Linked DNA regions of Homo sapiens: region 1 is linked to region 2. Evidence: promoter capture Hi-C in 16 types of primary human blood cells and fetal thymus (Javierre and others, 2016). All regions are on one chromosome and are shown on one strand. Each heading gives the region's core, a stretch centred on a gene start or on the middle of the fragment in contact. The rest is flanking DNA. Distances are from core to core; before and after follow the strand shown. Region 1 holds the start of TMEM238 (transmembrane protein 238). Region 2 overlaps PPP1R12C (protein phosphatase 1 regulatory subunit 12C).

Evidence for each region. Contacts are between HindIII fragments. The CHiCAGO score rates a contact against its expected background, and 5 or more counts as called.
Region 1: the fragment with the promoter of TMEM238 here is called in contact with a fragment that was not itself captured in region 2 in 6 of 17 cell types (naive CD4 T cells, non-activated CD4 T cells, total CD8 T cells and 3 more); the score reaches 6.9 in naive CD4 T cells.

Annotation. Positions count from the first base shown.
Region 1 is chr19:55,379,455-55,385,541 of GRCh38, reverse strand. TMEM238 (transmembrane protein 238) reads left to right here and starts at 1,250. Exons shown (of 2, transcript NM_001190764.2): 1 at 1,250-1,820. The coding sequence starts at 1,283. The coding sequence ends at 1,813. RefSeq lists enhancers at 565-634, 665-734, 688-1,650, 5,747-6,087 and silencers at 1,025-1,364, 1,655-1,744. The HindIII fragment of the contact is 6,498 bases long and covers 1-4,581 here.
Region 2 is chr19:55,088,431-55,095,200 of GRCh38, reverse strand. It overlaps PPP1R12C (protein phosphatase 1 regulatory subunit 12C), which reads left to right. Exons shown (of 22, transcript NM_017607.4): 12 at 403-540; 13 at 766-856; 14 at 1,968-2,048; 15 at 2,125-2,185; 16 at 2,333-2,418; 17 at 2,539-2,579; 18 at 2,657-2,759; 19 at 2,875-2,979; 20 at 3,292-3,342; 21 at 3,501-3,551; 22 at 3,643-4,283. The coding sequence ends at 3,729. Among named protein-coding and RNA genes, the nearest start is that of EPS8L1, 16 kb to the right of the region's middle. RefSeq lists an enhancer at 6,306-6,600. The HindIII fragment of the contact is 7,228 bases long and covers 1-6,114 here.

The sequences.
Region 1 (6,087 bases), core at 1-2,500, 290 kb before region 2:
TAGCCCCGGCACCTTTGGATATTTCCGGTCTTCGTAAGCCCTCGCGGTGATGGCCAATGAGGGCGCCGAGGCCCGCTCGGGTATTTTCGGAACCCTCCGGAAACGCTCTTGGGAGAGGTGTGTATGTTCGGAAATACTCCGTCTTCATTCGGAATCCCTCGGCTAATCCTGGCAGCCCTCTTGCAGTTCGCCCTCCCCAGGGTTTTCTTGAAATAAAACTCTTAAACTGTTTAAGCCTGGGGAGAACCTACACGGAAACTTCTCGCTGACTGCCACCCCAGGGGAGCGCGGATGCCCTCTAAGGGAGAATTGTTTGGAGGGAGGGAGATTTGCATGTGGCTTCTCTTGGCTCCCTTTAGGATTCTATAGATTTGCCGGTCCTCTTCCCTGCCCTCCACCTGTGCCTCCAGCCTATGGTGTGCCTGTCACACCCCATCAGCTCCCTGGGAGGTTATGATCCGTTGTCAGGGCCACCCTAAGGGGGCAGGAGCCTTGCCTGATATTTCTCTGTGTCCTCGGCCTCACCCACGCGGCATGGTGCTGGGGAGGCCTCAGAGACTCCTACTGAACAAAAGGAATGAGGGTGCCTGTGTCACCTCCCCAGGGCTCCTTAACTTGCGGTTACACCCGGGCACTCCTTGGGGCAGGGGCTTCGTCTGGTCCATAGGACTATCCTCCATAGGACAGTCGGGGTTCGCCCAGCTTCCTCCACGGGTGCGCTCTGGACCTGATGGGTCTCGTCCGTCCTTGTGCCCGTGGCTTCATTCGCTGAACACAGGAGACCCCAGAAGACACGCGCTGAGTGAAGGAAACTCAGCTTCCGCGGAACCCGGAGCTTCCCCTCTTAGATCACCCCGACTACTGGTTCTCGCGTCCCAGAGCTCCTTGGTGTCTAAAGGCCTTGTCTGATCTGCACTGTCTGATCTGCACAGGCTTCGGGAGGCGGACACTGAGCAGAAACAACGCCACGCCCGGCTCCGAGTGTCCCATGCTGCCACCACTAAAATGCCCTGATTTTTGGCCATATGTGACCTCCCTGGGTGGCACGGGCCCTAGGCACCCGTGGCTGTGCGCCTGGCTACCACCAGCTCAGGCCTCTGAGCAATAGCCCCTGCACGGAAACCACGACCAGGGTAACCCCGGCCGCGCCGGTTCGCGCCCAGCCCGGTTCAGGTGACCAGGCGGGAGCTTGGCACACCTGGCGCCGTCCCCTGACCCCGCCCCGGACCGGGCCGCACCCCGGAACGCTCTCTCTGGGCGCCAGCGGCGGCGGTGCAGGGCCATGGCGGCGGCGCCAGCGGTGTGCGCCTCGCAGGGGAGCCCGCCGGGTGCACCGTCCGCGCCGGCGGCCGCGCCAGCACCCGCGGCCGGCCTGGGCCGCTGCCGGATGGCGCTGCTGCTGGCCGTGGCGCTGGATGTGGCGGGCATGGCGGCGCTGCTGACCGGCGTGTTCGCGCAGCTGCAGGTGCGCGGCCGCGACTTCGGGGACCTGCTCATCTACTCGGGCGCGCTGCTGGTGTTCCTGAGCCTGCTGGGCTGGATCCTCTGGTACACCGGCAACATCGAGATCTCGCGCCAGGAGCTGGAGCGCGACTACGGCCTGCGGCCCTCGGCGCTCGCCCGCCTGGCGCGCAAGCTCTCCCGCCGCTGGTCGGCGCCCGCCGCCGCGGGCCAGCGCCCCGCGCCCGGCTCCCGGAGAGCGCGCCGAGCCGCCCGCGCGCCCCCGCCGCCCGCCGCCGGCTCCCGCCGCGTGCGCCTGCAGCTCGCCACGCTCGAGGCCGGGCCCGGGGCGGCGGGCGCGGGCAGCGAGTGAGGCCCAGGTGAGGGGCGGGCGGGGCAGGGCGGGGAGACGGAGGGACCGAGGGAGGGACGGGAATGGAGACAGACGGGGGAGCGATGGACAGATGGAGACAGAGAGCGGCCATGGGGAGGTAGAGTCCCAGGGCGGGGTGGAGACAGGGACGGGAAGGCTCTGGCGGAGAACCGCAGACACAGCAAGCACAGGTGCATACGTGGGGGAGGCTGTGAGACCCTGCCCCTGGAGATGGGAAGTGTGGGGGTCGAGTCACACAGTTAGGCCCCCCGCACGGGGAGAGCCCCAGCTTCCAGGTACACCAGGCCCCATTTTTTGTTTTGTTTTGTTTTGTTGTCGTTTGGGGTTGTTTTGAGACAGGATCTCTCACTGTCACCCAGGCTGGAGTGCAGTGGCGTGATCTCAGCTCACAGCAGCCTCGACCTCCTAGGCTCAAGCAGTCCTCCCACCTGAGCCTCCCAAGTAGCTGAGAATACATGTGCGCCCCACCTTGCCGGGCTAATTTTTGTATATTTAGTAGAGACGGGGTTTTGCCATGTGGGCCAGGTTGGTCCCCACCTCCTGAGCTCATGCGATTTGCTCTCCTCAGCCTCCCAAAGTGCTGGGATTACAGGCGTGAGCCACTGAGCCCAGACCAGGCCCCATTTAATCCTCTCCATGTAACTGGTCTCCAAGGTCACTACTATTACCATCCCCATTCTGCAGTGGAGGAAACTGAAGCGCAGAAAGGCGCCACATTTGCCCAAGGCCACACAACACGTAGGTGGAGGAGCTGGGATTCTCCTGACCTGTAGGCCTAGGAAAAGAGGAGCTGGGATTCTCCTGACCTGTAGGCCTAGGAAAGGAGGAGCTGGGATTTTCCTGACCTGTAGGCCTAGAAAAGGAGGAGTAAGAAGGACCAACAGCAGGAGAAATGAAGCCACCACACATTCACTCCCCTTTCCCCTCTACCTTCTATCTCTTTCCTAAACACACCTTTCCAGCTAGCCTGCCTCTGCTCAAAGACCTGCTGTGGCTCCCTCTTCACCTTTGGTTAAACTGAAGCACTCACTGGCCTGTGGACCCCCCATATTTTGGCCCCATTTCTCCTGCCTCTCTGCACTAATGGTGTCTCTTAGTCCACAGATAGCCAGTTGGTCCCTGTTCCTGCTCTTCTCTACACCAGGAGTGCCCTTGGCTGTCTCCACTCCACCCAGAAAACTTCTCACATGTTTAAGATTTAACTTAATTTCTCTGGGTCTTCTCTGGGTCTTCATATTGTCTGAGCGACCCCTCTTGCTGCTTATATGGCCATGTGCTGTGTCTATGTTGTTACTGTCTCTCCCACCTGACAGGGAGTGCCTTGAGGGTAAGACCTAGGTCCCTAGCGTCCTTGTTCCTAGCATTGCCCAGCAAAAAGTGTGAAATCAGGAAAGGTTGATGGTTGGGTAGGGAAGTGGAAGGATGGATGGAAGAACGGATGGCTGGATGGGTGGATGGGTAGATGGATGGGTGGATGGATGGATGAGTTGGTTGATGGATGCATGGGTGAATGGATGATAGATTGATAGATGGGTGGGTGGGTGGATGGGTAGATCGATGGGTGCGTGGATGGATGAGTTGTTTGATGGATGGATGGGTGAATGCATAGATGGGTGGGTGGTTGGATAGGTGGATGGGTAGATGGATGGGTGGATGGACGGGTGAATGGACAGATGGGTGGGTGGGTGGATGGGTGAATACATGGGTTGGTTGATGCAGGGATGTGGTTGGATTGACGGATGGATGGGTTGTTTAATGGGTAGATATGGGTAGGTGGTGAATTGGGCAATGAACCATGAATGGATATGGTTGGAGAGGGAGCCCTGCCTGATAAAGGGGCAAGAGCTTTTCCTGATACTTCTCTGTGTCCTCGGCCTCACCCATGCAGCATGGTACTGGGGAGGCCTCAGAGACTCCTACTGAACAAAAGAAATGAGGGTGCCTGTGTCACCTCCCCAGGGCACCTTAACTTGCGGTTACACCTGGGAACTCCTTGGGGCAGGGGCCTCGGCTGGTCCATAGGACTATCCATAGGACAGTCAGAGTTTGCCCAGCCTCTGTGCGCTCTCTGGATAGATAGGTAGATGGGTGAATGGGTAGTTGAATAGATGGTTGGGGCTGAATGATAAGTACACAGATGAGTGGATGAATGCATTTAATGGCACATGGATGGTTGGGTGACTGAATTCATCTCTCAAATAGGGTTTTGGTAAAAGAATTAAACCCTATTATCCTAGGACGTTCTATGTAGGTAAATAATTAACTTTTTTTTTTTTTTTTTTTTTTTTTGAGATGGAGTTACACTCTTGTTGTCCAGGCTGGAGTGCAGTGGCGCAATCTCGGCTCACTGCAACCTCTGCCTCCCGCGTTCAAGCAATTCTCTTGCCTCAGCTTCCCGAGTAGCTGGGATTACAGGCATGCACCCCCACACCTGGCTAATTTTGTATTTTTAGTAGAGACGGGGTTTCTCCATGTTGGTCAGGCTGGTCTCAAACTCCCGATCTCGGGTGATCCGCCCACCTCGGCCACCCAAAGTGCTGGGATTACAGGCGTGAACCACCGTGCCCGGCTGGAATTAACTTTTCTCCTATGCATCCAGAATGCTACCAGTTATATATTATTCTTTGTGAGATTTGGGGAAATAGTCACCCCAATCATATGCTACGTGCCGTGATTCAGTGAAGGAACTGGGGTAAGAAAGCATGAACATCTGCTTGCACGGGTGAAGCGTAAGCTAACATGAAGCTTGGCATAGAATGCAAACATAAGCACCTGTAGTTACTGTTACCTTTGGAAATCCTGGCTGAGCACAGTGGCTCATGCCTGTAATCCCAGCACTTTGGGAGGCCGAGGTGGGAGAATTGCTTGCTTGAACCTGGGAGGCAAAGGCTGCAGTGAGCCAAGATCACGCCACTGCACTCCAGCCTGAGTGACAGAGTGAGAACCCGTCTCAAAAAAAGAAAGAAAAGAACATCCTTTATGAGGTTGGGCATGGTGGCTCATGCCTGTAATCCCAGCACTTTGGGAGGCCGAGGCGGGTGGATCACCTGAGGTCAGGAGTTCGAGACCAACCTGGCAACCATGGTGAAACCCTGTCTCTACTAAAAATACAAAAATTAGCCAGGCATGGTGGCGGACGCCTGTAATCCCAGCTACTAGGGAGGCTGAGGCAGGAGAATCACTTGAATCTGGGAGGCGGAGGTTGCAGTGAACCAAGATCGTGCCACTGCACTCCAGCTTGGGCAACAGAGCAAGACTCCATCTCAAAAAAAGAAAAGGAGAGGAGAGGAGGGGAGGGGAGGGGAGGAGGGGGGAAGGGGGAGGGGAGGGGGAAGCAGGGAGGGAAGGGGGGAAGGGAGGGGAGGGGGAAGGGGGAAGGGGGAGGGGACGGGCAAGGGGGGAGGGGAGGGGGGAAGGGGGGAGGGGAGGGGAGGGGAGGAGAGGAGAATCCTTTACGTAGCTTAAACGTCTAACACAGCTGCACAGGCCTCCACTCTTGGAGCCTCCACCAAAGACTCAGACCACACTGACTCGAACGTAGGCCCCACTTAGAGGAAAATGGGCCTGTTCAAACCCAGGACTCTTGTTTACTGGGGAGAGTGAGCAGCTTCCAGCGCATGAAAGACAGAGAACCTGAATTTTAGCAGAGGGACCCACAGGTTCTGGCTCTGGTACCCCCACAACCTCCGAGACCACCATGAGTAGCCGGGCAGAGCCACCCCCATCACTCTGTTGTTCAGGCTGGAGAGCAGTGGTGCAATCACAGCTCACTGCAGCCTCCACCTCCTGGGCTCAAGCAATCCTCCCACCTCAGCCTCCCAAGGAACTGGGACTACAGGTACCAGAGACGGGGTCTTCCTATGTTACCCAGGCTGGTGTCAAACTCCTGGGCTCAAGTGATCCTCCTGCCTGCAGCCAAAATGCTGGGGTGAGGGTCTGAGATGAGGACCACGATGCCCGGCCTCCTTCTGTCTTCACTGTGTCTGCCTGTCTCCCTCTCTCTCACTCTTTGTCTCTGTGTCTCTGTCTCCCAGGTCTCTTTCTTTGTCCCTGTGCTTCTGCCTTTCCCCTTCTGCATGTCTTCGTCTCCCCCTTTCTGCCTCTCCCTGGCTCGCATTCCCTGGCCTCTACCCTTGGATTTCAGGGCGTTAAAGGTACACACGCATGCACACACTCAGCAAATGGGGGCATGCAGGGATGAAGGAGCAAGTGTGTGAGTCCATGTGAGCGGCAAGGGCAGGCGGATGGGGCTC
Region 2 (6,770 bases), core at 1,251-3,750:
CCTGGGGTCTGGTTCCTGCCGCCACTCCAGAGCCTGTGCTGTGTTCCTCTTGGGGGCTCTCTCCCTCCCTCAGGTCTGTGTTGAAACGTCACCTTCTCCCCTATCTTCCCCCCACCCCGAGGTGCACACTGACCACCCTGCTGCCACCACGGCGCCGTCCGCACACGCACACCCTCCCGCTCTCAGTTCTCGCACTGCTGCTTCTGTCCAGAGTCCTTTATCCTTCTGACCGGTTGCGTAGTGTGCTGGTCTTTTCATGGCTTTTGTGGGTTTTGTGTATTTCTGCTCAGCTCTGACTCTGTTGTGGCCCAGATAATTTGTTTCTTTCACTCACGGCTGCATCTCCAGTGCCGGCACACAATGCACCTGGGTAATGTTTGTGGAATGAATGAATTGATGCAGGTCTGAGGTCACCAAGCCTCCTCCTTGCTTGGAGAACTCCTCGCCTCCCTCCAGGATTCCGGAGCCTGAATCCCCAGCGAAGCCAAACGTCCCCACAGCCTCCACGGCGCCCCCAGCGGACTCCCGGGACCGACGGAGGTGAAGAGGCCAGGGCAGGAAGCTGCCGCCCCCGCCCCCAGCAGGGAGAGACGATGTGAAGCAGGAGTCCCGGGGCTTTGGGTGGGCTCCTGAGGGAGAGCTGGCCTCAGGTCTGCTGGGAGTTGGAGTCCCCTCCCACAGAACTTGCTTCCCGCGGAGGGTGTCAGCCACGGAATGGGACAGGGTCCCCAGGTTCCCTGTCTGAGGTTGGGACCCTTCCCTCAGGTCCTACCAGATGCCTGTGCGGGATGAGGAGTCGGAATCCCAGAGAAAAGCTCGCTCCCGTCTCATGCGCCAGTCTCGGAGGTCCACACAGGTGTGGGGTGGGCTGGGGTCTGGACTCCTGGGTCTGAGGGAGGAGGGGCTGGGGCCTGGACTCCTGGGTCTGAGGGAGGAGGGGCTGGGGGCCTGGATTCCTGGGTCTGAGGGAGGAGGGGCTGGGGCCTGGACTCCTGGGTCTGAGGGAGGAGGGGCTGGAGGTCTGGACTCCTGGGTCTGAGGGAGGAGGGGCTGGGGCCTGGACTCCTGGGTCTGAGGGAGGAGGGGCTGGGGCCTGGGCTCCTGGGTCTGAGGGAGGAGGGGCTGGGGCCTGGACTCCTGGGTCTGAGGGAGGAGGGGCTGGAGGTCTGGACTCCTGGGTCTGAGGGAGGAGGGGCTGGGGCCTGGACTCCTGGGTCTGAGGGAGGAGGGGCTGGGGCCTGGGCTCCTGGGTCTGAGGGAGGAGGGGCTGGGGCCTGGACTCCTGGGTCTGAGGGAGGAGGGGCTGGGGTCTGGGCTCCTGGGTCTGAGGGAGGAGGGGCTGGAGGTCTGGACTCCTGGGTCTGAGGGAGGAGGGGCTGGGGCCTGGACTCCTGGGTCTGAGGGAGGAGGGGCTGGGGTCTGGGCTCCTGGGTCTGAGGGAGGAGGGGCTGGGGCCTGGGCTCCTGGGTCTGAGGGAGGAGGGGCTGGGGTCTGGGCTCCTGGGTCTGAGGGAGGAGGGGCTGGGGCCTGGGCTCCTGGGTCTGAGGGAGGAGGGGCTGGGGTCTGGGCTCCTGGGTCTGAGGGAGGAGGGGCTGGAGGTCTGGACTCCTGGGTCTGAGGGAGGAGGGGCTGGGGCCTGGGCTCCTGGGTCTGAGGGAGGAGGGGCTGGAGGTCTGGACTCCTGGGTCTGAGGGAGGAGGGGCTGGGGCCTGGACTCCTGGGTCTGAGGGAGGAGGGGCTGGAGGTCTGGACTCCTGGGTCTGAGGGAGGAGGGGCTGGGGCCTGGACTCCTGGGTCTGAGGGAGGAGGGGCTGGAGGTCTGGACTCCTGGGTCTGAGGGAGGAGGGGCTGGGGTCTGGGCTCCTGGGTCTGAGGGAGGAGGGGCTGGGGCCTGGGCTCCTGGGTCTGAGGGAGGAGGGGCTGGGCCCTGACCCCAGCGTCCCCTGACTGTCCCCTTTCCCTGCCAGGGTGTGACTCTTACAGACCTGAAGGAGGCAGAGAAGGCTGCAGGGAAGGCCCCAGAGTCAGAGAAGCCGGCGCAGAGCCTGGTGAGAGGGGTCAGCGAGGGCGAGTGGGGTGGTGCGGGATGTCCTGCTTCCCTGACTCGCCTCCCCCTCCCGACAGGACCCTTCCCGAAGGCCCCGCGTCCCTGGAGTGGAGAACTCTGACAGCCCTGCCCAGAGAGGTGAGGTCTGCTCTCGGGGAGGTCATTCCCAGGGAATCATCCAGTTTCTCCCATAGTCTTCTTGCTTTCCTGGGGGCTTGACCCGGGGACCCAGGCACCGAGAGGGGGCTCTGGAGGTGCCTGGGCTGATTCCTGCCCCTCCCCCAGCAGAGGCGCCCGACGGGCAGGGTCCGGGACCGCAGGCGGCCAGGGAGCACCGCAAGGTCGGAAAGGAGTGGAGGGGGCCTGCGGAGGTGAGGGGCTCAGGTGGGGCCGAGCTGGTGCAGAGGGTGGGCCGGGGGGCGGGCAAAGCCCTTCCCATACCCGCTAAAGTCCCTCCCATACCCATTGAACCCCCGTCTACCTGCCCACAGGGGGAGGAGGCGGAGCCGGCTGACCGCAGCCAGGAGTCCAGGTAGGGGCGGGGTGGGAGAGGTGGGGTCTGCGTGCGGGCCGGGCCGGCCCCTGACGCGCGCTCCTCCCCTGCCCCAGCACCCTGGAGGGCGGCCCCTCGGCCCGCAGGCAGCGGTGGCAGCGGGACCTCAACCCAGAACCTGAGCCAGAATCGGAAGAGCCAGACGGAGGCTTTAGGACGGTGCGATCCCACCCCTCCGTCGGGGCTTTGCCTGCTGGGTGCCCAGCTTCCTGGCTTCCCCGCCCCCCCAGCATCGCCCCATCCTCCACCTGACCCTCCTCTACCTGACCCCCAGCTGTATGCAGAGCTGCGCAGGGAGAACGAGCGGCTTCGCGAGGCCCTGACCGAGACCACGCTGCGGCTGGCGCAGCTCAAGGTGGAGCTGGAGCGGGCCACGCAGGTAAGGGCGCCGAGGCCAGGGTCACGGGAACTGGCAGGGCCGCCTGGGTGGGGCTTAGACTGCTGGGAGGTAGAGCCTGGCCTGGGGGTGCCGGCGGGGCTGGGCTTCACTTGAGGGGCGGGGCCGAGATCTCGGAGGCGGAGTCTGAGCGAGGGGATGGGGCTGTGGGCCTGCCGGTGGCGGGGCCTGGCCCGTGGGGGAAGGGCTTGTGGGCTGCCTAGTGGGCGGGCGGGTGCCCAGCAGGAGCCTAGGACCCTTCAGAGCAGTGCTGGCTTCTTCTGCTGACCCCTGTGCTTTCTGTGTCCTCACCAGAGGCAAGAACGCTTCGCTGAGAGGCCAGCCCTCCTGGAACTGGAGAGATTCGTGAGTAGGGGCAGTGGGGATGGGGGCCAGAGGCGTCCCCAGCCTCACATCCCTAAGTTTGGACCAAGGGAGCCACATTGCCCTTCCCAGCTGGCCCCTGGCCTTCCCCTGCCCTCCTCAGCCTCACTCAGTTTCTGCACTTTCCCTGTTCATTCCAGGAGCGCAGGGCCCTGGAACGCAAGGCCGCAGAGCTGGAGGAGGAGCTGAAGGTGGGGGCTGTGGGGGCTGTGGGCAGAGGGCCGAGGGTGGGTGGGGGTGCAACCCGCCAGGGCTGCCCAGCTGACCCTTGCCGTCCCCCAGGCCCTGTCTGACCTCCGCGCTGACAACCAGCGCCTCAAGGATGAGAATGCAGCGTTGATCCGCGTCATCAGCAAACTCTCCAAGTGACCCGGAGGGACTTTCCCGCACCCGTATTTATACAGCTGCTTCTGCCACACGCACCCCTTCCCCCGTGTGAACACGAGTGACAGGGCTCCGGGGGAAGTCTCAGAGAAGCCATAGCCCCCCTGGGACCTCCGGACTGGGAGGGGAGCAGAGTCCCCAGGAGCCGAGGGGGCCACCCGAGGCCAGGATGGAGGTGGGAGGCCGAGCCAAGCAGGGGGACGTTGCCAGAGGGGACCAGGGCCAGAGACGGGACCAGGAAGGAACTGAGGACCAAGAAGTGCAAGGATCAGTAGCCAGGACCAGAGTGGCCGCCTGGAGGTCCCCATCTCACGTGTGATGCCACCCCGTCACCCCTCCCCTCCTGAGCAGGGATCCAAGAATGTGCCAAGAGTCCCGCCAGCCTCAGCCAGGTGGGCCTGTATATAGGGTCCATGTGCAATAGGGAGGGACGTCTTCTATTTTTTGCTGCCCCCTCCCCGCCCACTGTCTGGGGCAGGGGGAGAAGGTATTTTCGAGATAAAGCACAGGCACCACAAATAAAAGTCGTGAAGTTGCCACTCAAGCTCTGTGTTCCCAGCCAGAGGGAGGGCACTGTTTCCTGCTCCTGCTGGGGGGCCGTGCGTGTCCATGACCAAACCACTGGGCCACTTGGGTGGGTGCCGGGGGATGGGCTGGTGCTTACTCACCTGTGTGGTGAAGGAGCTTCAGGATGAGCCCCCAGCGGGAGCGAAGGCTCCAAGACGGAGCCCGCGTGATCGCAGGCGGGGGGCTGAGGGGAAGCTGATGGGGCAGGAGGGATCAGCGGGCAAGACCTCTGGGGCCAAGGATGTGGAGCTGGGGAGTTTGGGTTTTGCCATCAGTGTCTTTGAAACAAATTTAGTCAATTGCCAACATTTAACATTTGGAGAAATTTGTGTGTAAAAATCTGGAATTTTGGCCGGGTGTGGTGGCTCACGCCTGTAATCCCAGCACTTTGGGAGGCCGAGGCGGGCAGATCATTTGAGGTCAGGAGTTCGAGACCAGCCTGGCCAACATGGTGAAACCCCTTCTTTACTAAAAATGCAAAAATTAGCAGGCGTGGTGGTAGGTGCCTGTAATCGCATCTACTCTACTTGGGAGGCTGAGGCAGGAGAATCGCTTGAACCTGGGAGGCAGAGGTTGCAGTGAGCCAAGATCGAGTCACTGCACTCCAGCCTGGGCAGCAGAGCGAGACTCCATCTCAAAAACAAACAAACAAACAAAAAACAAAAAGAATTTTGCCTTCTTTTGAAAGAACAGGAATCTGTGACAATATGAACTTTTCAGTCCTGCATAGCCACCGTTGACTAGAGCTGAGTAGGAGCCATCTTCTGAGATGAGGCATTCATTCAACAATTAGTATAACACCAACAGGAAGAACAGGACTGAGTGAGTACAGTGTGACTGATCATTACTGAACAAAACAAAGATCCAATACTTTTAGGAGGGGGGCATCCGATGTTAAAATAAATGTATTTCAAGGTGGCGGCGCTCTGGAGAAAAGAAAGGGGTTGGGAAGGTGGGTGCACGTGTGTGCACATGTGTTTTGAATAGAGTGGTCTAGGCAGGCCTCAGGGAAAAGCTGGTGCAGGCAGATGGTTGAAGGTGGTGGAGAGGGAGCTGTGTAGGTATTTGAGGGAAGGGTGCTCTGGATGATGGGAGCTCTGTGTGTGGAGACCCTGGGGAGGGAGCTGTGTAGGTATTTGAGGGATGATGGGAGCTGTGTGTGTGGAGGCCCTGGGGTAGGGCACCTGGTGTGCTGCAGGAAGCTGAGGAGCTGGAGAAAGCAGGGAATGAAGCTAGAGAGGTCACGGTGGCTGTGTGGAGACTTGGCCCTGGGAAGGGCTTGAGCTGTGAGATTGGAGCTCTGGGTGTCTTTTGGAGCATGGCCATGGCCTGACTTAGGTTTTAACAGGTCCCTCTGGCATGGAGAACAGGCTGGGGGTTGGTGGTGAGGATTGGGGGGACCAGCTAAGGGTCTACTGGTGAAATCCAAGCAAGAGAGAGGGTGGCTCTGGCTGGGGTGATGGGAGTGAAGATGGTGAGAGATGGTCAGGTTCTGAGAATATTGGAAGATACAGCTGCCAGGATGTTCAAACAAGCTGGCCTGTGACGGGGGTAGGGCTGAGGCCCGGCTGGCTCACTTGGGTCTCTTGTCGGGTTCCTGCAGGCATTTCAGTTTGCAGCCTAGGTGGCGAGAGCCACGGGGGCTTATTGGGGGGCGGGGGGCGGGTGCGGGAATGGAGCAAAGAGGTTTGGGGGAATTGCCTACCTTTCCTATTCCCCTACTAAGAATGAGGGGTGGGGCCCCGGGCAAGTGGTAGAGGGGCTGAGAGTATTCTGGGCAGAAGCAACCACATGAACCAAGCTTGGCAGCAGGAGGAGGGAAGCTGAGCCCCGTGGTCGGAGAAGCTGGTGAGCCGAGTGGGCAACCTGTGACTGCCAAGCTGGGGCCTGGTTTTATCCGGTGAGCCATAGGGAGCCAAGGGAAGTATGTGAATAGGATCTAGGGACGGGGCAGATAGGAGAAGGACTCTTGGAGATCCAAAGAGGAAGGAAGGAACCAGAAGGAACCAGGCAGGAGGTGGCAAAGTGGGGACTGAGAACTCCTGCCTGCCCCAAGGGCGGGGGGCGGGGTGGGGGTGGGGGGGCGTCTCTCTGATCCTTTCCCATCTTGGAGGGCGCCATCTGGTGGCCCAGGTTGGAACAACTCCGGGAGAGGCTTGAGGCCCAGAGGCCCAGAGGCCCTCAGTAATCTGGGGAAGGCAGAGCCAGGGGAGAAAGAGAAAGGGCCATTCTTCCCAAAGGCAGAGAATATCCAGTCTGGAAAACAGTGGGATCCAGAGAAAAGCAGACCTTACCAGCCACCTGGATAATGGGGAAAAGAAAGTTACAGGGCTTGCCAGAGGGAGAAGGAGCTAGTTCTTGAGGGATTAGGAAGTTTTCAGTTGGCTGCCATCTCCCAGAACAAAGAGTGGCCAGAAAGCTGTGGCATGCTTGGGAGGCAGCCAGTTCTACCTGGTAGG